7 separate regions of the Homo sapiens genome follow, and all the other regions are linked to region 1. Evidence: promoter capture Hi-C in 16 types of primary human blood cells and fetal thymus (Javierre and others, 2016). All regions are on one chromosome and are shown on one strand. The core of a region is centred on a gene start or on the middle of the fragment in contact, and the rest is flanking DNA. Distances in the headings are between cores, read along the strand shown.

Region 1 (3,068 bases), core at 201-2,700:
ACTGATCTGTTGCACAGTTTAAAAAAAAAAGGGGGGGGTTCTTCCTCAGTGATCACAGTCACTATTCGTTCTCATTTTTAGTAACAACCAAATCACCGTTACAAGTACACAAGAATAGCAGCAAACCGCTTTGCTTTGCAGTGTGCCGTGACAGTGGCATCCCGGGCCGGGAGGGGCTCTGTTCTCGCCAGCCGCCTCTTGGGCTCCCACCGAAGTTAACACCTGTATCTCCCCACAACTGTAACCAAGCGGCTCCTTCCCACCTGAACGCTTCTCCCCTCCCACAAACCCCTTTTCGGACCACTGGCCCTCCCCGCCACAGCTGCCCTCCTCGGGCGCCCCCGGCGGCTCCCACAACTCCCCTCCGCGCGCCCCCGACCACCGCCCCGCCGGGCCCGCCCCTCCCGCCGCTCGGGGGCTGCCAGCCTCACAAAAAGTTCGCCAGCCGCCGCCGCGGAGTTGGGTCCGCTGCGAGAGGCAGAAACGCCAGCCTCCTCCAGCGGATCCCGCTCCTCGCCAACACACTTTAGCTCCCCGGGAACTCGGTCCCTCTCCGACTCCCAAACTTCGGCGGCGTCTCCGGCGCCCACCCGCCCCCGCCCCCGCCCCAGCCCCAGCCCCAGCCCCGCGATGCGCGGGGGACTGCGGGCGCCGCGTCCGTAGCTGGCCCAGGAAAGCCCGGACGCCCAACCCGCACACGCCCTCCGCGCCCCGCGCGCGTCTCCGCGCCCCGCGGGGCCCCGCTCGGCCGCTCCACGCCCGGCTTCCGCCCGCCGCGCGCCCGGCACCGCCGCCCTCGCCTCGCCTCGCCCCGCGCTCGCGGCCCTAAGCCCCAGCGCCCAGGCCCCCGCCGCCGCGCTCCCCGCGCTGCCCGCCCCGACCCCGGCCCCGACCCCGGCCGGCCCGCCAAACACCCACATTCCCACTGCGCGCCTTCCTCCACGCAGCTGCCCCTCCCGCCACCCCCGGCGGCTCCCCAGGTCCCCGGAGCCCCGGACCCCAGCTCTAAAGTTACTTTGGAAGGTGAACCCGCGGGTTATTTCCCTCAATCACCCAAACAAGTTTCCATCCTCGCCACCAGCACCACCGCCGCCCCTCAACACACCCGGTCCCTCCCGCCGACAGCCCCCTGCGGCCGCCCGCCCAGCGCCCGCACCTCCCGGGAAAGCGCAGCTCCCCGCACCACACGCCCCCATCGCGGCACCCCTCCCCCTGCCAGCCCACCCCCGGCGCTCCCCGGGCGGAGAGTGTCTGTGTCTCCCAGAGTGTGCGAGTGCGTGCGTGAGTGTGCGCGCGTGTGAAGGCGGAGGTGGGTGAGAAGCGGAGACACTTACTTCTCCCGGGCCTGGCTGTCGGACGGGACGGCGCTGCTGTTACTCTTGCCTTTGCCGTACATGCTTGTGCCGAGAGCAGCTCCCACTGTCACGCACCTGTCAACCCATCACAGCCTCCCCGGGAACAGCCCCGTCCCCATGGCGACCCACGCAGCCACCCCCACTATTGGCCGCCCCACGCCAAAGCTCCGCCCCCTTCGCCCAGGCAACGCGCGAGACTGACAGGCCTCCCCCTCCCTCTGGCCTTCCGAAGCGCGCGGTGGCGGCTAAGCCTCAGCGGCAGTCTCCTCCCTCCTTCCCTCCCTCCCCGACTCCCTCCCTCCCGCCTTCCCTCTCCGCTCTCCTCCCTCCACCCGCTCTCCTTCCCCCTCCCCCCTCCGAACCCGGGCGCAAGGGGGGAATTAGAAACTGCTCTAGAAGGATTTTAAACAACTGGCTGTTCTCTCCGCCGCCACCCCTCCCCCCGCGCCGCCCGCGCTCAGCTCCTCACTGGAGAGAAGGCGCCGGGAGGAGGAGAAACTGCGGCCTGGAGTCTCCGGCCGGAGCCGGCGGAGCTGGAGCCGTGGCGGCCCCAGACTTCGGGGCGCCCGCCGAGTCCACGACAGAGCCACGGCCTCAGCCGCCCTGGGGCCCCCACCAGCCCCTCTCCCGCTCCTCTCCTATGCGTGACCCCGCGCCGGTACCCACGATTGATTTTTGCGGTCCTCAGCCCTACTCCCTGGGGTGTCGCCCCCGCCCTGTTCCCAGAGGGCCGGCTGGCGAGGGACACCCGCGCGGTTCCCTCGACCTTCTGGCTGAGCGACCGACAGCGACTCGCCTTCTCTCCTGGGGAAAGGCTGCACCTCCGGCCCTCGGCGCCGCTGCGGTGGCGGCGCCCGGGGCCGCGCCCTGCGCCCCAGGGGAGCACCCGGCCTGGGGTCGGCCTCCTCTGTAAGAGGTGAGCGGACCTCCCGAGGAGGCCCGGTGACTCCTGCGGCCGCAGCGGCCCCTGCCCCAACCCCTTCTTGCACGGAGCCCCGCGGCGCCCTGGACACCCCGCCAGATCTGCCGCAGAAGAGGGCCCCAGGCTTCCCCACCCGGCCTGGTTTAACAGTTTGGGTCAGTGATGCCTATTCATCCTGACCCCTGGAGTGGAAAAGGCCAGAAAAGGTCTTGAAAGACTTCCCTGTCCTTGCCCGTTAGAATAGGCCCCAGCGCGCTCCAAGGTGTACAAAGCTGTGCCAGGGCTGAAAGGCTGCCCGAGAATGTTTCTGTATCCAAATCCCTAATCCCATTTCAGTAAACGCGCAAAAGTTTCAGAAACACACACAATCTGGTTCCCAGTAGAACTCTGCATCATTTATCTTATTGAAGTCCTTGACTGTAAAATCAGACGGGTGCAAATGGGGTTAGAAAGAAGATGGGCTTCACACGGGGAAGAAGGGGACAGATGGGGTGGGACAGGGCGACATCTGGAAAGGATGAATAGACAAGAAGTAGCTATGGGAGGAGAGGGAAATCGGATTCGCGTGGAGGAAGGTACCGTTCTATTCCACACACACACAGCTTTAAGCATTTAGTAGGAGGATCATAAAATGCATATGGAGATATACAGATAGATGGAAAGGAAAGAAATGGGTGTGAGCATTGACAGAAGTGATAGGAATAAAACATCAACAGATGATTAAGGAAGGGCAGTTAGCAAAAGTGAGAGGTCGAGAATCAAAAACGCGGTTGGCAACCAGACATAAAGAC
Region 2 (3,043 bases), core at 16-2,515, 270 kb after region 1:
GGCGTGGCTGGGCACAGTGGCTCACGCCTGTAATCCCAGCACTTTGGGAGGCCGAGGCGGGCGGATCACAAGGTCAAGAGATTGAGACCATCCTGGCCAACATGTTGAGACCCAGTCTCTATTAAAAATATAAAAATTAGCCAGGCGTGGTGGCGGGCACCTGTAGTCCCAGCTACTCAGGAGGCTGAGGCAGGAGAATCGCTTGAACTCAGGAGGCAGAGGTTGCAGTGAACCGAGATCACGCCATTACACTCCAGCCTGGGCGACAGAGTGAGACGCTGTCTCAAAAAAAAAAAAAAAAATTAGCTGGGCGTGGTGGCGCATGCCTGTAATCCCAGCTGCTCGGGAGGCTGAGGCAGGAGAATTACTTGAACCTGGGAGGTGGAGGTTGCAGTGAGCCGAGATTGCGCCACTGCACTCCAGCCTGGGTGACAGAGCAATACTCCGTCTCAAAAAAAAAAAAATTTTATCTGAGGTTGGTTGAATCCGTGGATGCAGAGCTTGCTGATACAGAAGACTGGATGTATATACGTATTTTAATGCATGTTTAGTTTTTAAAATATGTGGTGTATTACTTTGATTAAAATGAGTACTTTTTTTTTTTTTTTTGAGACGGAGTCTCGCTCTGTCACCCAGGCTAGAGTGCAGTGGCATGATTTCAGCTCACTGCAGCCTCCACCTCCCAGGTTCAAGCAATTCTCCTGCCTCAGCCTCCCGAGTAGCTGGGATTACAGGTACCCACAATGCCCGTCTAGTTTTTGTATTTTGAGTAGAGATGAAGTTTCACCATGTTGCCCAGGCTGGTCAGCTCCTGACATGAGGTGATCCTCCTGCCTCAGCATCCCAAAGTGCTGGGATTACAGGTGTGAATCACCATGCCCAGCCAGTACTCTTTTTTTTTTTTTTTTTTAAAGAGGAAAGTCCATTTTCAAAGCACCATTAACTGTGCTGTTATTTACATATATCTCATTTAATTTAACCCCACAATATCTCTGTGAGTTAGCCATTATTATTTCTACTTTAGACAGGCATATAGGCTTAGAGAAAGTAAATGATTTGTCCAGGTTACATAGTATTTATGTTCGAGGCAGGGTCAAGACTGGAACCAAGGTGTGTCTGCCTCCAAAGATTATTGTCTTAACTCCTAACCTATAGTTTAATATTTGAATATTCATTAACTAAGTTAGAAGCTGAAGTTTTATCTATTCCATACCACCATTATGTAGCCAACACAATGGATCTGGAATATGTATATATACACACACATAAAATATATATATATATATGTATGTATATATATTTATTTTTCTTCTCAATGCTCCCCCCCTGCCCCAGCAAACTTTAGTTGCCTCTTATCAATGTGTAGAATTGAAACAAGAAAGTAGCAATTGGGCAGATTCTTCCAGTGGGAATATGATGACTATCCAGCATGACTAAATTTGTTCTAAGGAAAAAAGAATACTTTTATTTAATACTTTGTGTATTATATTAGGCGCTTAGATTTGAGATACTAGATTATAGTAGCACATATATTTAGATTTTTTTAAGTTTGCTTGTATTTTTTAAAAACACATGTAATCATGAGTGTTTCAAGTTATCAATATCCAGCTGCATTATCCTACTTTAGGTGTTAAATTTGATACAGATTTATATAGTAATTGTCTTTAACAGATGCTGTAGATATTTATTGCAAAATGTCATTGAAAAGACAGATTTAATATATTAGTTTAGTACACATGGTGATTTAAAGTTTAGAATACATTAAATAAACTGTGTCAGAAATTATAAATAAACTAAAATGAGTAAAATTATTCTTAAATTGCTAGACAAGTCTTCACATTTAATGTTACATTAATGAGTTTTGTACAGAGACTGTTTGGAATAAAATCCTTTTTCATCAGATGTTGCACATATGCTTTCACTGTTTGTTTTTCTTCAAAGTAAAACTTAATGAAACAGCTAATAAAACCCAGTTTTGCTCCTGATTCTTGAAAGAAACAAGCCCTTGAAGTGCACCCGCTGTTTATTCTTTTGCACTGGTTTTTGCTACTTTTCAGCATGTAAATTTTCCAGTAATGGAAAACAGTCAAAGCCGTAAACCTTTTCTTCCAAGTCTTATAAACCCAGTGTTTATTTCTTATTTGTAGAGCGATTGCACAATGGAGACATGCTTTGCACACATACAGAGAAGTTTGGTCTCAGATCTTCATGTGCACCTCCTGCTGACTTCACCAGGGTGTAGTGCATGTGCATTTAAATGGCTGTTTATTATGTAAATGACCAAGAACCAGAATAGGGGTTTTAACTAACCTAAAAAACTGAGAGGTTTCAAAGTAAAAGACATATATGAGACTGCAGCCCTATTACTCTCATAAACCTCAAAGTGTGTTAGACTGGTGAGTAGTTTATGAAAAAGGATCAGCTTCTATGCATTAGAAGTGTATAGATGGCAGATGTGTATGTATCCCAAGTGGCTCTTTCACTAACCATAGAGTATACTATTCTGTCTTCCAGCTTCTTTCCGAGATGGATTGTTCGACTCTCTTGACAGGGTAGAGGTAGATATTTGGGTTGGGATGAGAGACTGTATTCTAAGGCAGCATTACTCAAAGCGTGGCCTACACTGGTAACAGTGCAAGGACATCAGTACAGAAATGGAAAATTAGTGACTAAAAACTTTTAAGCAGTTTGACAGAGTAATTTCTATGTCTGTTTAATAAAAGAATTGAGGCTTGTAATTTGTATGTTTTGGATTTTTTAATTTCATTTTTTTCTAGTAATTCAGTTTTAGTGTTTTTCACAAAAATATGTCTATGACAGATTGGAAATAAAATCCTGATCTTTCACCACAGATGGTTTGAAAAGCATTTGGTCTAGGATAAGATTTTCAAATGTTGATTTTTGTCCCTTTGCCCTATAACATAACATTATGTATTGAAGTTTGACTAAAGAAAAAAGGCCATGATTTATAATTCCAGTACCCTGAGAAAACAGCCTGATGACCCTGAATGGTTAATAAGCTAAGGGCTGGGTGGCAGAACCT
Region 3 (3,237 bases), core at 557-3,056, 260 kb before region 1:
AGAAACAGTAGATTAGTCAGGTAGTATTGTCACCTCCAGCTGATAAAACTTAAGTAGATTTTCCAATTTTAACAAAGTTGATTTTAAAAACGTTTAGTTTTCACATATTTGATTAAAGTTGTCTCTCATTTATCATTTTGAAACTCTACCATAAATTGGATAAGTTAGTTATGTACTGTCAACTAGAAGCTTATTCTAATATTCACACTCTCTCTGTTATTTTCTCTTTCCTTTATAAATCACCTAATTTCACCTATGAAGCTGTCTTTTTAATTCTGGACTAATTTAAAAAATTTAATAAATATTGTGTCATTGGTTTTATAATGGCTGTCTTTTACAAAATGATGTTTTATGACATAGTCATTAATTCAAAATATAGTATCAATTTAGTTTTTGAAACATGGAGACATAAAAATAGGTTACTAATAATTTTTGTCTGTAATACAACCACTTTGAAGTAGAATACAAGGTAAAATTATGTGAAAAATATTACTAAATACCAAATGTTGAGATAAATATTTAGAAGTGCCTCACTTGAAACAGAAGAACACTTGAGATCTGCGTGTTGATCTGAATGTAAGAAGATGATACAGTGTTTATTTAGTGGTATATGTAAAAGGAGAATTTTTTTTCCCCAAATGGATGGCATTGTGAATGAGTGTATGTTAATGGAACTGTCTATACCCTCCTACCTGACTGAGGCCCTGTGAAGGAGCTGCTGTGAGGGAGGGTCAGTGTATGTGCTAGCTGGGAACCTGCAGGTTACTACAAAATGAGATCAAGAGAAAGAGACAGATTCTGTTTTTAGTCAATTTATTACTCTTATATGTCCTCCTTTAAGTTCAAATTTGTATGTTTTTTTGGAGGCCAAAAAAAAAGAAATAGAAAACCACTTATAAACTCTAATCTTCACACAATTAAAGCACAAAAAGACAAAACAATCGGTTAATATAGCTAAAAACTACTACTTTTACCTGAAATATAAGATTACTATGGTTAAAGTATTTTTAACACAAAATTAGTGCTGTTATAACATGGCTTAGTATTCAGATTGATCCTTCCCTTATGTTATCTAGATAACCACCTAAGTCCTCAACTGCCTAGTGAATTAGCTTGCGTAGACACAGCAACAGAATCTAAAAGCGTTTGCATACTAGCAACTGAGAATAATCTGCACTAGTATCTGTACTTCACTATTCAGAAGTCAATTTGCTTTCAAATGAAATTCAAAATGTTAACCCCAATTTTAATTATTTTATGGTAAAATGCTAATCTGTCCAAGAGATTATGCTAATATAAATTATATCTATTGACAGACATGTCAGTATTCCCTGCTTTAGCAATCTGAGAAGAATAGGTTCTTCAAGAGTCTTTGGGCTGGGCGAGGTGGCTCATGCCTGTAATCCCAGCACTTTGGGAGGCCGAGGTGGGCAGACCACTTGAGGCCAGGAGTTTGAGACCAGCCTGGGCAACATGACGAAACCCCATCTCTACTAAAAATACAAAAAATTAGCTGGGCTTGGTGGCACACGCCTGTAATCCCAGCTACTTGGGAGGCTGAGGGAGGAGAATCGCTTGAACCCAGGAGGCGGAGGTTGCAGTGAACGGAGATCACGCCACTGCACTTCAGCCTGGGTGACAGAGCAAGACTCTTTCTCAAAACAAAACGAAACAAAAAAACAGGCAGAAAAGAGTGTTTGGCTCTTAAAATGTGTTTACTCTTTATGTTTGGGGCAACATTCTTTTTTTTTTTTAAGTTTGAGTAACAAATACTTGTTTGAAGGTATCATGATGGTGAATCAGTGTTTTAACTGGAAAAAAGCCTTCCCCAGAAAGGATTATTTGTAATGTGTGTGGAAATAACATTTGACTGGGAGTCAAAGACCTGGGTTTTAGTTTCTGTACCTCTATTAATTAGCAGTGTCCCTGAGCTAATCATCTTTCAGGGCTTTAGTTTTCTCAACCTTAAAATGAGAGAGTTAAACCAGGTGACTTCTAAAGTCCCTTTTAAAATAAGGAACCAATGATTCTGTGTTAATTATTTTTAGTATTACATTTAAATATAAAGATTAGTATAATGTAGATAGCTATAAATATTTGAAGTGTGTGTGGGTGAGGCAGGGAGTGGGGATAAAGGCATATGTTCCTAAGGCACAAACCATTTTCATCAAGGAGCTAAAGAAAATTATTACCATGCTTCATAGAGAAAAAGAAAAACCTAAAGATTAAATATCCCACAACACAACAGTCCTCTTTGTTGTGTCAGATTAAAGGTCAATTAGGAGAATAAAAAAGCTACACTTAACAATGAGAAAGTATGGTAGAAATTTGTTCATTCAAAAACATATATATATATTCAAAAACATATATATATCAAAAACATATATATATTTGAATGAACAAAACAGATAGATAGATAGATAGATAGATAGATAGATAGATAGATAGATAGATAGATTAACAGGGTCTTGCTCCATTGTCCAGGCTGGAGTGCAGTGCCATGATCATGGCTCCCTGCAGCCTCAACCTCCCAGGCTCAAGTAATCCTTCCACCTCAGCCTCCTGAGTAGCTGGGACTACAGGTGTGGTACACAACACCACACCTGGGTATTAAAAAAAAAAATTGCAGGCCGGACGTGGTGACTCACACCTGTAATCCCAACACTTTGGGAGGCCAAGGTGGGCGGATCATGACGTCAGCAGTTCAAGGCCATCCTGGCCAACATAGTGAAACCCTATCTCTAGTAAAAAATACAAAAAATTAGCCAGATGTGGTGGCATGTGCCTGTAGTCCCAGCTACTTGGGAGGCTGAGGCAGGAGAATTGCTTGAACCTGGGAGGCCGGGGTTGCAGTGAGCCAAGACCATGCCATTGCATTCCAGCCTGGGTGGCAGGGTGAGACTCCATCTCAAAAAAAAAAATAAAATAAAATTGTAGAGATGGGTGCTCGCTCTGCTGCCCAGGCTGGTCTCAAACTCCTGGGCTCAAGTGATTATCCTGCCTTGACTTCCCAAAGTGCTGGAATTACAGGTATGAACCATCATGTCCTGCTCATCAAATATTTATTAAACACCCACAAAGGCACTGTTCTAAGTGGCTAGATATATCAGTGAACAAGGAAGATAAAAATGACTACCCGCTGATTAGGATTTTTCAAGGTTCACAGTCTTGTAATTAATAGGAGAAACAATTTCTATAAAAATTCTTTTCTACATCAGTCCACTAATCTGAGACAAA
Region 4 (3,418 bases), core at 222-2,721, 420 kb after region 1:
TCTAACTAATACAAATATATTCAAACTGAAAAGTCCAAATAACAGAGGAAATCTAGTGAGAATTATTTGTTGAGCCATGTAAATGTTTGAAATATTTTGGGGAATTAGGATAGAAGTCACATGCTGGGTTAGAACATATGATAGCAATAGAATCTCATTGAAAAATCAAGCCCTGTTTTGAAAATGTACTAAAGGAAAGGTGCTAAAGAAATGGGAAGTAAAACTACAGAGATAGCTAGTTAGCCAAAAGGTTTATTCTAAGCAGAATATTGCTTAGCCACATATACAAAAGGCAAGAGATTTTAGTTGGACCCAGAGGCTTGGGAGAGAAAATAACAAGGTAAGTACATTAATTTTATTAACCTGTAAGCGACTGTATTTTAGCTTTCTTAGGTGAATGTTTGTGCCATATGGAAAAAACATCTCTTTGCTTACTATTGGCACAATGAGCCCTGTTTGAAATACCTATTAAAATATACATGAGTGCCTACTGTGTGCACAACACAAATCTCATTAGCCTCTTTTTAAAATATGCTGAAACAAATCACTGCCTAACTTGTAACTCATGTATTGTTTTTCTGCTCCTTCAAAGTCATCAAAGCAGTATTCGAGTCTATATGTTAGGTGCTGTTTTGAGAAGGCAGAGACTGCATTCCATGAGAAGGAGACCAGGTTGGATGGTGGAAGTAAGGGTATTCAAAGTGCTGGTATAGAGTAATATAGTAGTAATAGGTCCATGATGTGGGGATAATGTTTGAGGAAAGCCAGGAATACAAATTACTGAGTATTAATCTCAAGAGTTTGGGATCAAAACCTCAGAATACTTTGGATAGGATTGAAAATAGAGTGTTGGCAGGGCGCGGTGGCTCACACCTGTAATCCCAGCACTTTGGGAGGCCGAGGCTGGCAGATCACCTGAGGTCAAGAGTTCGAGACCAGCCTGGCCAACATGGTGAAACCCCATCTCTACTAAAATACAAAAAAAAATAGCTAGGCATGGTAGCAAGCGCCTGTACTCCCAGCTACTTGGGAGGGTGGGGTGGAAAATCGCTTGAACCCTGGAGGCGGAGCTTGCAGTGAGCCGAGATCACGCCACTGCAGTGACAGAGCGAGACTCTGTCTCAGGGAAAAAAAAAAGAAAACAGAGTGTCTTCTGCTTTAGAACCAGCAGACCTTAGGCTGTAGATATCCAGCTGGTAGTATGGTTCTCAGATTTCTGGATCAATAGTGGTATCACAGGGCTGATGTCTCAGGTATCTTGTGGACCCAATGTTGCTTCCCTTGGGACCATTTTCTGATTCAGAGGTTCATCAAAATGGTCTTATATGTCCTTTACTAGGTTAAGTGATTCACTTAATTTAAATGGAAGGGTATAACATCACTTGCGTTATTCCATGTTTCTTAACACTGTGTGTGGACAGTTTAAGATGATTCATAATTGCTCCTTTATGTGCTATTGGGCATATGTTCATAAAAATAGATTGTAACACACATAAACTTTCTCATGTAATTAAAAACCATGTTAACATCTATTTTTTCTATTCAAGACTGCTAGACAAATATATAACATTTTAAGCTGATAATTTTGAAAATATTTATTAAGCAAGACTTTTAAACCATCTATTTGTGCTATATTAGATGTGTACCCCTGGTTGCAAATAATTTGATAAGCAGGAAAAGGCTTATTGAAGGGTAGATCGTAGAGTCAACTGAAGGTGGTAGAATGACAAGGCAAGGGAATATCTGCCTCCCTTTAGCTTTGGTGGTAGAAATGGGGCTCTGCCTCCTACTTATTTTGGAATTTATCTCCCAAATTGGAAGTGTGTTTGGATACTGAGAAATCACATATCTGCTATAGCTGCATCTGCTTAATGCTATGGATTTATGTGAGTATGAGGGTTTTTAAAAATATAAATGTAAAACATTTAATCAATTAATTTTATTATGATCATTCAGCCATTATTCTTAGAATGTGCTAATTACTCTAGAAATAATGTTGAACTTTCATCTGTTCATTCATTTGAAAATATTTATACATAAGGCATGGATATGTTTCTGAAATGCTGAGATAAATAAAGGAAATCAGAGATGGATAATACCATCAAGGAGCTTACAGTCTAGTGAGGGAAACACAAGATAGGTCTGAAATTCACTATAACAAGTAGAATATGTTAAGGACCATAAGAGAGGTAAAAGGCACCAGGGCTTGGAGAGCTATGACTACCTTGAGCTGTGGTGATCAAGAGAGGCCTTGGCTGGACATGGGATTTGTCCATGAGTGATAGGGGAAAGGGTGAGCCAGGCTTGGGAAGAAAATCATGAAAGGGAAAATTCCAGATACTCATAGGTTAGGCAGTGTTGATGGGGACCACTAGTAATAGTAGCAACAAGAACAATACAACTAATATGCATGTATAACTTTACACTTTACAAAGAACTCCTGTGCACAGAAACACATATAATGTAGTGGTGAAAAGCGCATGGTCTAGAGTCAGAAAACTTTAGTTCTGATTCCTAGCTCTGCTGCTTACTAACCTTATGACCTTGGGCAAGTTATTGAACTTTGCCATTTCTTTTCTTTCATCATCTGAAAAAAAAATTGAGTTAGCAATAATACTGATTTCAGAGTTTCGAGGATCCTGAGCTTATATTGGAAATGGTGCTTGACACTTAGTGCCTTTCAATCATGCTAGCCAAATTATATATCTAGATCTTCACAATAAAATTAGAAGGTAGTAACTATTATTACCCTCATGTGAAGACAAAAACTGCTCAGAGGGGTTAAATTATTTATTCAAGGGTACATAGAAAACTGTAGAGTTGGGACTTAAACTCTATAGCCCATTTTTCACTACATGACACTTTCATTCAAATAACTGAAATTTAAGAACCATATAGGTTAAATTAATTAATTGATGTTATATGCAAGCAAAAGAAAGTTGCCATAGTTCATATTTTTGGAATTTCATTTAGATTTCTTGAGCCCAATAAAGATACAAAGTCCTAAAATGCTTATAGGAATAAATAAAAGTTACAGAATTAGCCAGTATAGTAGCTGAAATGAATGTACGTGAACAATTGCACTCATTTCATATCACAATATAATTTTCTCACTGAAGCAAAAATGAATTTTCCCCTTTGGTGGAGCTTCATCTCTGCCTTACTGTGGAGTATGACATGAATTTTTATATCTTTCAAAGCTATGTTGAAGACAATATATTGAATAATGACATTTTTTGTTGTGAAAAATCTACTCTTTCCTTTTTATTTCTAATGGCCACATTCAGAACATTATTCTTAAACTTACTCTGAATTATTTGTACTCTCTCTAGTCTTCATTTTAGGAGTTAAAAAATGTTAGTGAAACCGTGCACAATAAGGATAAAGGTGACTCCAGCGTGCTTGCACTAGAGTTAGA
Region 5 (2,982 bases), core at 290-2,789, 310 kb after region 1:
GGATTACAGGCACCCATCATCATGCCTGGCTAATTTTTGTATTTTTGTAGAGACGGGATTTCACCATGTTGGCCAGGCTGGTCTCGAACTCCTGATCTGAGGTGATCTGCCCACCTTGGCCTCCCAAAGTGCTGGGATTACAGGCGTTGAGCCACCATGCCCGGCTGAACTGCTAACATTTTAAAAACTGAGACCTATCAGAGGGTAGAGGGTCAAAAGAGGGAGAGGATCAAGAAAAATAACTAATGGGTAATAGGCTTAATATCTGGGTGATGAAATAATCTGCACAACAGACTCCCATGACACAAATTTACCTGTGTAACAAACCTGAACATGTACCCTGAACTGAAAAGTTAAAAAAATTGAATAAGCAAATTTCATGAAAGGGATTGATTGTGCTCATGATAGATGAACTCAAAGAATAATCCTAATTTGTACAAATTATCAAATTTAGCTGTAAGTGATTTTACAGACTAGATTATCTATCATGAAAAATTATTGGTAGTTTTGTGATAATTAATAAGTTTTATAATCTTGTAAGCAACTGCATAAAACAACATTATTTTTCATTTCAACCATCGCTGATCAAAAGATACTTCAACTCTGCACTGAAGAGTGATAAATTCTTATTTTACTATGGTCCTTGGGATTCCAAAACAGGGTTTAGGTAAAATACATCATCTTTTGATCCTAAATATATGATGATCAAAAGTCTAAATTTTTTTTTTTTTACATTTTTCTTCTAAATTAGTTGTATTTGTAGATAGTTGAACAACCATACCAAAGATATGTAGATATGTGAATGGATATCAAACTTGAGGGAAGGGTTTTTGTGGAGTTAGAGAGTACTATTTGCTTAGCTCCCGATGTTTTTATTGGATGAAATATTAGATTAATTTTTTTTATCAATGACTTTAACAGGTTCTCTTTCAACACACATTTATGCCAGCATTAATGCCTTCATGTATTAACATTTTAATTCCCCCAAAATAATACTTATCATGGTCAATTACTTCTATTACATACCAGTTCATCTTACTAGTTGCTTTATTATCTTATTTAATCTTCAGAAAACTCTTATGACAATAGATATTAATATTAATATGGCAAATAAATGGATAAGATTAGTGAAGGTGGATAAAAACAGTTATAATAATAATAACAATAACAATATTATAATAAAGACAGCAGCCTAAGTTTATGGAGGACTAACTATAGGTACTGCACTAAGTGATTTGCATATATTAATTCATTTCAACTCATGATATTGATATCTTTATTCTCTTCACTTTATTATGAGGAAACTGAGACATGACACAAAGGTTAAACTTGCCTAAGGACAATAGCTAGGAAGTGATTATGTTCTGGCTTTTGTTAAGTTCTGGCTTTGGGAAACAGTAGTTCTTAAAAGTTAGTCATATTAATTAAGACATTTATTGAGAGTAGGTAGTATGATTTTGCATGTGACATTTCTGAATTTGTGAGATGAAAGTGAGATGCAGTTTTTGAACAAGATATTTTCTTTACCAGTGACCAACAGAAGTATGTTGCATCAATTTAAAATCCTCTAAATATAGGGCCGGGCGCAGTGACTCACGCCTGTAATCCCAGCACTTTGGGAGGCCGAGTCGGGGCGGATCACTTGAGGCTGTGAGTTTGAGACCAGCCTGGCCAACATGGTGAAACACCATCTCTACTAAAAAAATACAAAAATTAGCTGGGCGTGGTGGCAGGTGCCTGTAATCCTAGGGAGGCTGAGGCAGGAGAATTGCTTGAACCCAGGAGGCGGAGGTTGTAGTGAGCCGAGATTGCACCACTGCACTCCAGCCTGGGCGAGAGAGCAAGACATTGTCTCAAAAAAAAAAAAAATCCTAAAAATATAAATGAATAATTTCAACAGAAGCAAACATAATCGATGCTGGCTTGGGATATCTTATTTTATGTGACACTTATTTTCATAAATGGGTATTGATACTACCATATCACTTTATCAATTTATGATTTTTTTTGTATTTAATTGAAGACTTTTCTTAGAGAAATTGAGATATCATTTAATAGTAGTGAAAAACGTGATTTAACAATTGATCTACTTTAATAAACAGGAGCATATTGTCCTTATTGAAGCCTTATTTCTATACATGAAACGATAATTTACAAATAGAAGTGGGAACCAAGCCCTATACTTCAATTAGACAATTTTTGACGAAAATTAACCATTATTAACTCTTAAAATTTTTGTGGATATATTATTGCAAAATAGCTGCTAAACTTAAGTTTTTTTTTTAAGGTTCTAAATTAACTTACTGGCTAATGAAGACTAGAGAGACTAGAGTTGAGAAATAAGGTGTAAGTTTTTTTTAAAAAAATCGTGTCCAGCACTCATCCACTCAGTAAAAGGAAACAGTATCTAGTTAACTTAGATACTGATTTTTAATAATAAGTAGTAAAAATTATTAATGAATGCTCAGAAAGGGGAAATATCTGAAAGTATTTCCTATGTAACTCGTGTTCTAGCCAACATTGCTTTGTATTTTTTTGTCTCTAATGTCTTCATTTATGAAGTTTTGAGTCATTTTCCATAGAATAGAGATAACCTAGATTTTGTCTTTTGATTCACACAATTCAGCTACCTATACACACTGACTTTAAGTTGGTCAGTAATTTTTATATTATTGAAGTTTGTGTTCTGCTTGAAGTTCGATTACTGTAGTTCCTCATCCTTTTGCAGAGGTATCAGAGGTGGGTACCAAGCATATTTTATTTATCCATTTACTATCCTTATTACTTCAGAGCCTCAGGTTGCACCTTCAGATTACATTTTTAAAAACTATGAAAATGATAGAGTCATAAAAATGGCAATAATATACTAGTGGAAGAAAAGATTTTTGTCTTAGGGCCTTGTAGTTCACTAACTGGGATTTTCCTTAGACCAGGGCAGGTAGAATATTATAGAAAGTGAGGCCCTCGACAAAAAACAACCTA
Region 6 (3,320 bases), core at 595-3,094, 360 kb after region 1:
TAATCAAATCAAATATATTGACTATTTTTCCTATTTGGCTTCTTCTGACTAAACTGTTGCATTTAATATTACAAGACTTCATTTTTATGGATAATCAAGAATGTGCATGAAACCTTAATTTCCAGCATAGAGGGTAATTGCTCAGTAATCATTTACTTTCTTTAAAACATAACTGCATTTAACTAAGAAAGTAAGAAAAAGAGCTATTTTTAAAAATGGCATTGAAATGGTGTATAAGATCAAACAGCGTATGAAAAATATACCCACCTTGGTGTTATTTTACCATCTTTTACCTCAGTAACTTAAAGTGGACCTTTCTAGTTCACTTGTTTAGTCACGGGATCATAGCAGCTTGCTCATCTCTAGTGGTATGAAGCCGTATTTGAGAGGTTGGGCAATAGAGCCCTACAGTGTTATGTGATTTGCTCAGTAACAGAGGTAGCTCCAGCATGCACACCTCTGAACTGCATGAATCCACTGCCTTTTCCACTTGCCTGTGGTTTACCATTGTTCTTTGTTTCATTTACCAGGGTGAGATCTCATTTAACATGTTTTAGATTACAGAGGTTTTATAGTAGAGCTAAAAGCATATAAAACAAGAATTTATTAGAAAGGACACCAATCTTTAACAGCCTCTGCTGGTCTCAGGTTAATCTTACTATGGTATCATTTTCTTAACAATGGACTATCATAAGCTATATCATAGCTCTTATACACATTTATGCAAAACAATTAAACTATAGTGTATGAATAAACATTCCCTGACCCCCACCTGATTTTCCTACCCCCTTCTATGAGCAAGCAGATGGCCATTTTAAAGTAAGATAAGTGGAGAAAAATAGAGAAGTAATAAGGGGCAATTTGAGCAGTCAGTGTACTGTGGTATCCGTGGGACCCTTCTCCAACTTCATGTGATAGCATGCAGTATAGAAAAGGTTCTTTCAGCAAGTGTTTAGGAAAATATGTTCCAAAAGATCTGCATAACATTAGTGTAACCAAGTGTTCCTCTCTCTGGCTTCCTGTTTTGGAATTAAATGCCTTCAGGGTACTCAGAATAACTCTGTTTAGGAACACAAGAAGAATTTAACCTCTTATGTTCCTAATCAATTTTAAAAATATATATATAGATTAAATAGAAAGCAAAAAGATCTTATTCTACTTTGCTTCTCAACAGTTTCAGCTAAAAATTAAAACTGTTTATACATAAAGTCGGTGGTTTAGTTAGAAAACAAAGGTATAAACAAGAATTCTGACAGGATTATTATCAGCAAAATTTTAAGATCAGTTTTGTCCCTGTAAACAAATTTCATAGACAAACCTTTTTACATGTAGGATTATTTCCAAAAGAACTCAGTGGAAAGTTTCTACTCTGGGTGTTTGCAGGAGATAAAGGGAGCAGCTAAGCTGAATTGATGTTTACTTCTTTGTGGTGTTATTGTTCAACATTCTTAAGTTGCTTCTGCAAAGCCAGCAGAGGGAGCACCAAACAATATTTTTGTTTACCTTAAAGCTTACAATGTATTTTAAAAATATTTTCTTTCACTTGCATTAAAAAATGTCTACAATGAATAATTTGTTGATTTTACATTTTTACTGTATAGTTTTAACTTCTCTGAAATTAAAAGACTTGAGGGGCTTTATTATGCAATTTAATTCTATAAACATTCAGTAAATGCTTACTGTTTATAAGACTTGATGCGTGATGGAGAGTCAAAGGTGAATACTCCACAGTCTCTATTCTTCAATAATTTATAATTTAGTTGGAGAGAAAGAAATGTAAATATCCTCTGTTTACAATGCAGAAGGATAATAAAGGTAGAATATGGGCTAATTCTTAATAAAAAACAAATAGGGATATTATGGAGAAGGTGACATTTGAATTGGACTTTGAATAAGAGGTTTCCAAAAATGGAAATTCTAGACTGAATGGAGCAGCATGAATGCAGGGTATACTTAGAGCAAGACAATTCTAGGCCTGAGGCTAGATAGAACCTGGTTGATAGAGGGGTTATGTACTGGGAGGTGAGGTCAGAATGCTAAGGTAGAGTTAGATAATGGAGCACCTTGAAATCCGTGCTAAGTGCTTTTGAGTTTATTCTGTTGTCAGAGGAGAGCAAACTGCACACCATTTCGAGGAAACAAATAATGTTTTGATTAAATAATACTTGTTTCAGTGTGAAAGCTTGCCTGGAGAACTGAGAGATTAAAGATTAGACATTTTTATACTAGGTAAGGTCAGACATTATATCATCGTGGATAATAATAAGAGTAATGGTTGTAGTAATACCTTTCATTTGTATTTGCGAGTATACATATATATACACATGCATACATATTTGTGTATCTACAGAGAACCCTAGACACCTATATATATGTGCATATATATACACACAGTATATGCAATAATACTGCTCTTATATAATATTTATGTACATATCATATATGTATATATGTGTATATATGTATGTATAACATGTGTATATATCTCATGTATATGTGTGTGTATATATCCCTCAAGATAATCCTATGATTTGAAGATATATATTGAAAATGTCAAGTAATATGTATATGAGGTCTCATAGCATAGTCAGAGCTGAGGTGGTACTCAAATTCTAGGTTGTTTGAGTCTAAGCCTGATATTCTTTTTATCATGTTATGCTGTTTTTGCATTATATGATGTCAGTGTTGATAGGAAGGATGGAATGTGCATCAGAGACATTACAAAGGTATAAAATATTTAAACACAAGGCAGAAAAAGGAGTTGAAGATAGCTCTCAAATTTTCAGTCTATGTGACTATGTGACCAGGAAGCAGGAATGGTGTTGCCATTGCCTCCATAGATGTAAGGGAAGGAACAGCTAGGGGAGTGGGATGGGAAACAGGCATAGGGGGGAAGATAATTCCATTTTGGCATGTCAGATTTGAGATCCTGAAGGCAATCTTATAGAAATATGTAGCACATACTTTAAATTTTGGATTTGGAGCCGAAGAAAAGTCAGAGCTACAACTTGAGAATCGATGATATATTTCAGAGAAAGTGTATAGACTAAGAAGAGAAATGAAATGAGAGCCTAACCTTGGTGGAAGACTACATATAGGAGGCTAAGGTAAGAAATAAGAGACAGAAGGAGCCTGCACAAACTCTGACAGAGATGAGAGTGGTCAGGGGAATGCCTTGTTCCTCAATCAGCAAATATTTGCATTCTTGCTGTGTGCAAGGCCTTTGCCCAGAGTATAAAAGAGGGTGCCATCGCAGAATCAACTGTTGTAGGGGACAGTATGGGAACTGAGGAGAGGTCATTAGATTTGTTCACTCAGGA
Region 7 (3,350 bases), core at 90-2,589, 480 kb after region 1:
TATATAGGGTAGTGGTTAAGTACTTGGGCTGTTGTGTCAGAGGTCTGTGCATAGATCCAGGTTCTTCAGTTTGCTAGCTCTGTGACCTGGATTAGTCATTTATGCTTACTCTATCTTAGTTTCTACATCTATAAAATGGGGATTATAATAATAGGTTATTGTGGGGATTAAATTGATTCATACACATATGAATAAAAGCATGTACTATATAAAAAGTATGTATGGGCTGGGTGCAGTGGCTTATGCCTGTAATCCCAGCACTTTGAGATACCAAGGTAGGTGGATTGCTTGAGTCCAGGAGTTCAAGACCAGCCTGGGCAATATAGAGAAACCCCACCTCTGCAAAAAATACAAAAATTAGCTGGGCATGGATGGCATGAACCTGTAGTCCCAGCTACTCGGGAAGCTGAGGTGGGAGGATCGCTTGAGCCTGAGAGGTCAGGGCTGCAGTAAGGAGCCATGACTGTACCACTGCACTGCAGCCTGGGCAACAGAGTGGGACCATCTCAAAAAAAAAAAAAAGTATGTATGTACTATTAAAAGTATGTATCAATACTATATAATGCCATTAACTCATGATTTCCAAAAATATTTTACTTTATATATTTGCTTATCAAATTTTATAATATATTTATGTTGTTTTGATCAATTGAATACTAGCAATGATTATGACAACTCAATCAGACATCTAAGTTAACATAGAACAAAATGGCCACAGGAAATTTTAAAACATAAACTCCTTTGTCTCTCTATTTTTTTGGTTATGAGAAGATGATCAATAAAAAGCTTTTAAGCATAAAATATACATTAGGATGAAGTTCTTTGAGAGGAGCACAATAGAGATATGAATTCAAGGAGAAATATATAAAATGTCCAATTGTATTGCATATATTTTTTAAGTGAATGATGATGGATGTTTATTTTCAATTGAATGCATTTAAGATAATGATGTAATATTAATAGTTGTATTTAAAATTGTCAATATGTACCGTGCATTGGAAATCATATAATTTGCAACTATTTAATGAAAACCTTTAGAGGTGAACTTGTGTACCTGGGGTATATAGATAGATGTTTTTTAAATTTAGGTGATGCAAACAAGTTCAGAGACACTGGAATAAAACACTGATTTACAGGAGTAAGGACATAAGTGAAAGTAGAGGCATAAAATTATCTTTATAATTTATATTTTCCTGAGTACCAGCTATAAGAACAATACCTTCCTTATCAAGTTGAGAAAGTAGGTAAATTATAGAAGCCTGAGGTTCCCGTGGCAGAAAGTCGATTTGACTTGTGTGGACTAACTTAACTGAAATATCTTCAGTGTTTCACAGAGAAGGTCAGTGTATAAAAAACACATGTACTCCCAATTTGATGAGTAATTCCTAGGAGAGATCCCTTGCCTTTGTAGGGATGCTGGATTTGTCCCTTGAAGTTTTTGTGAAACGAGCTATTTCTGAGTGGACCCCTCTCCTGAGGCAGAAATGGAGAGGCCGGATGGCTTGGATGCATGCTCTGAGACAATTTTACTTCATGCTGGAGATGGCAGCTGTTACAGTACTGGAGGAGCACTGGCTAAGACAGGAAAGAATAAATGAGCCTCTTAGGAGGAACATGCTAGAAAGGAACTATTTTCTACTTTAAAAAATAAGTGTTGAAGAACATGTGCATGCCCTAAGGTGTGTTTACTGCTAATTATATGAGTTTGACAGGCACAATTTTGATTTAAATTTTATTTCATGCCATGCTTCAAGTTGAAAGTTTGGATGCCACTTTCTTATTGGGCAAGTTTCATGTCAGTGTATCCACAATTGTAAACTGTAATTAATATATAATTTTGTGTGCTGGTTTTTACACTTAATATCATTTTTCAGACCCTAGCCAAGGAAAATAAAGCTTTTTAGAGAAGTGGTGTGTTAATGCTATAGCCATATTTTATACAAACTGGCACAGAATCTGAGTAAGTTGTGAGCTTTAGTTAATGTGACTTCTTATTTGAATGGCCCGTGAAGACCAAGGAATAGTCAGTCCTCCATGTCTGCAGGTGTCCATATCTGTGGACATGGAGGGCCAACTATACTAGCCACTTTACATAAGGGACTTGAACATCCATGGGTTTTGCTATCTGTGGCAGGGAGGTAGGGGGGTCCTGGAACCATTCCCTGTGAATACCAAAGGATGGCTGTACCAGCTCATTGGAAACTCACGTCATATAATGCAGGCCTGTTCGTATACAGATTGGAGCCTTGGCAAACTATTTTTGAAAAGTTACTGATCCCTGCACTGGTCAATCTGAAAAGGCATTATCCAAGGACATAATGTGGTTATAAACATTCAAGAAAGTTGCCCAACCCCATCCCGAGCCCTAACCCTTTGCATGTTCTCTTGCATCAGGTCACTAATTCCTGAAGGTTGCAGCCTACAGCCAAGTTGAAAGAAGCATAAGGGCTAAGCTAGTTGACTAAAGTCTTTATGGAGTCTATGTGATGTTTTTGTGAAATATTTCAAAGGAAGGGTTAGTTCTCACATTAAGACAGGGCTACTTAAAACAGTGAGGGACTAATAAAGCAGTTTGTATTGGTGGCAATAATGTAGTTTCATCTTTTTGGAGGGAAATGTGATCATACAAATCAACAAATACGAAATACAAATATTCCCACTGTTTTTATTCATTCCAAAATTTTTATTATAAGGAAATAATTCATAAAGAGGAATATATAGTATATATGCATAATTTATAATAGTATAAACTGGCTGGGCACGGTGGCTCACGCCTGTAATCCCAGCACTTTGGGATGCCGAGGCGGGTGGATCACGAGGTCAAGAGATGGAAACCATCCTGGCTAACATGGTGAAACCCCATCTCTACTAAAAATACAAAAACTTAGCCAGGTGTGGTGGCACGCTCCTGTAGTCCCAGCTACTCAGGAGGCTGAGGCAAGAGAATCGCTTGAACCGGGGAGGCAGAAGTTGCAGTGAGCTGAGATCGCACCACTGCATTCCAGCCTGGGCAACAGAGTGAGACTCCGTCTCAAAAAAAAAAAAAAAAAAAAAAAAAGTATAAAACTGGAAAATCTAAATGTCTAACCATGGAATGATGTAAATATCCATTATGATATATTAGCTAGATGGAAAATTATGTAATTAAAAGAAAGTTATAAGGACTATGTAAAATATGGAAAATTATATATGAAATAATGTCAACAGGTAAGAGGAATAATGGAGTCACAAAAGTATATATTCACTATGTGCATAACTGATAGATAGATAGATAGCTATTAATAAAATTTGAGAAGAAATAAACCTTTAAGAGGCCCTAGTCTGAAGCGTTCATGAACTTCGTTGAGTGT

What was found. Contacts are between HindIII fragments. The CHiCAGO score rates a contact against its expected background, and 5 or more counts as called.
Region 2: a fragment that was not itself captured here is called in contact with the fragment with the promoter of SSBP2 in region 1 in 1 of 17 cell types (megakaryocytes); the score reaches 5.2 in megakaryocytes.
Region 3: a fragment that was not itself captured here is called in contact with the fragment with the promoter of SSBP2 in region 1 in 8 of 17 cell types (fetal thymus, total CD4 T cells, erythroblasts and 5 more); the score reaches 9.2 in fetal thymus.
Region 4: a fragment that was not itself captured here is called in contact with the fragment with the promoter of SSBP2 in region 1 in 4 of 17 cell types (M1 macrophages, megakaryocytes, M0 macrophages and 1 more); the score reaches 6.0 in M1 macrophages.
Region 5: a fragment that was not itself captured here is called in contact with the fragment with the promoter of SSBP2 in region 1 in 1 of 17 cell types (neutrophils); the score reaches 5.3 in neutrophils.
Region 6: a contact is called between a fragment that was not itself captured here and the fragment with the promoter of SSBP2 in region 1, in 2 of 17 cell types (megakaryocytes and fetal thymus). The highest score is 5.7, in megakaryocytes.
Region 7: a contact is called between a fragment that was not itself captured here and the fragment with the promoter of SSBP2 in region 1, in 2 of 17 cell types (fetal thymus and megakaryocytes). The highest score is 7.5, in fetal thymus.

The regions. Positions count from the first base shown.
Region 1 is chr5:81,749,647-81,752,714 of GRCh38, forward strand. It overlaps SSBP2 (single stranded DNA binding protein 2), which reads right to left and starts at 1,451. Exons shown (of 17, transcript NM_001256732.3): 1 at 1,335-1,451. The coding sequence starts at 1,396. RefSeq lists silencers at 313-472, 693-742, 1,183-1,232, 1,403-1,732, 2,003-2,352. The HindIII fragment of the contact is 16,084 bases long and covers 1-3,068 here.
Region 2 is chr5:82,021,738-82,024,780 of GRCh38, forward strand. All of the region lies in intron 2 of ATG10 (autophagy related 10), which reads left to right. Among named protein-coding and RNA genes, the nearest start is that of ATG10, 51 kb to the left of the region's middle. RefSeq lists an enhancer at 1,326-3,043. The HindIII fragment of the contact is 5,505 bases long and covers 1-3,043 here.
Region 3 is chr5:81,490,846-81,494,082 of GRCh38, forward strand. The region is part of intron 5 of SSBP2 (single stranded DNA binding protein 2); the gene reads right to left. Among named protein-coding and RNA genes, the nearest start is that of ACOT12, 98 kb to the left of the region's middle. The HindIII fragment of the contact is 3,239 bases long and covers 188-3,237 here.
Region 4 is chr5:82,169,813-82,173,230 of GRCh38, forward strand. All of the region lies in intron 4 of ATG10 (autophagy related 10), which reads left to right. Among named protein-coding and RNA genes, the nearest start is that of RPS23, 110 kb to the right of the region's middle. The HindIII fragment of the contact is 7,884 bases long and covers 1-3,418 here.
Region 5 is chr5:82,063,627-82,066,608 of GRCh38, forward strand. The region is part of intron 3 of ATG10 (autophagy related 10); the gene reads left to right. Among named protein-coding and RNA genes, the nearest start is that of ATG10, 93 kb to the left of the region's middle. The HindIII fragment of the contact is 8,136 bases long and covers 1-2,982 here.
Region 6 is chr5:82,106,008-82,109,327 of GRCh38, forward strand. All of the region lies in intron 3 of ATG10 (autophagy related 10), which reads left to right. Among named protein-coding and RNA genes, the nearest start is that of ATG10, 140 kb to the left of the region's middle. The HindIII fragment of the contact is 672 bases long and covers 1,509-2,180 here.
Region 7 is chr5:82,227,700-82,231,049 of GRCh38, forward strand. The region is part of intron 5 of ATG10 (autophagy related 10); the gene reads left to right. Among named protein-coding and RNA genes, the nearest start is that of RPS23, 49 kb to the right of the region's middle. The HindIII fragment of the contact is 1,110 bases long and covers 785-1,894 here.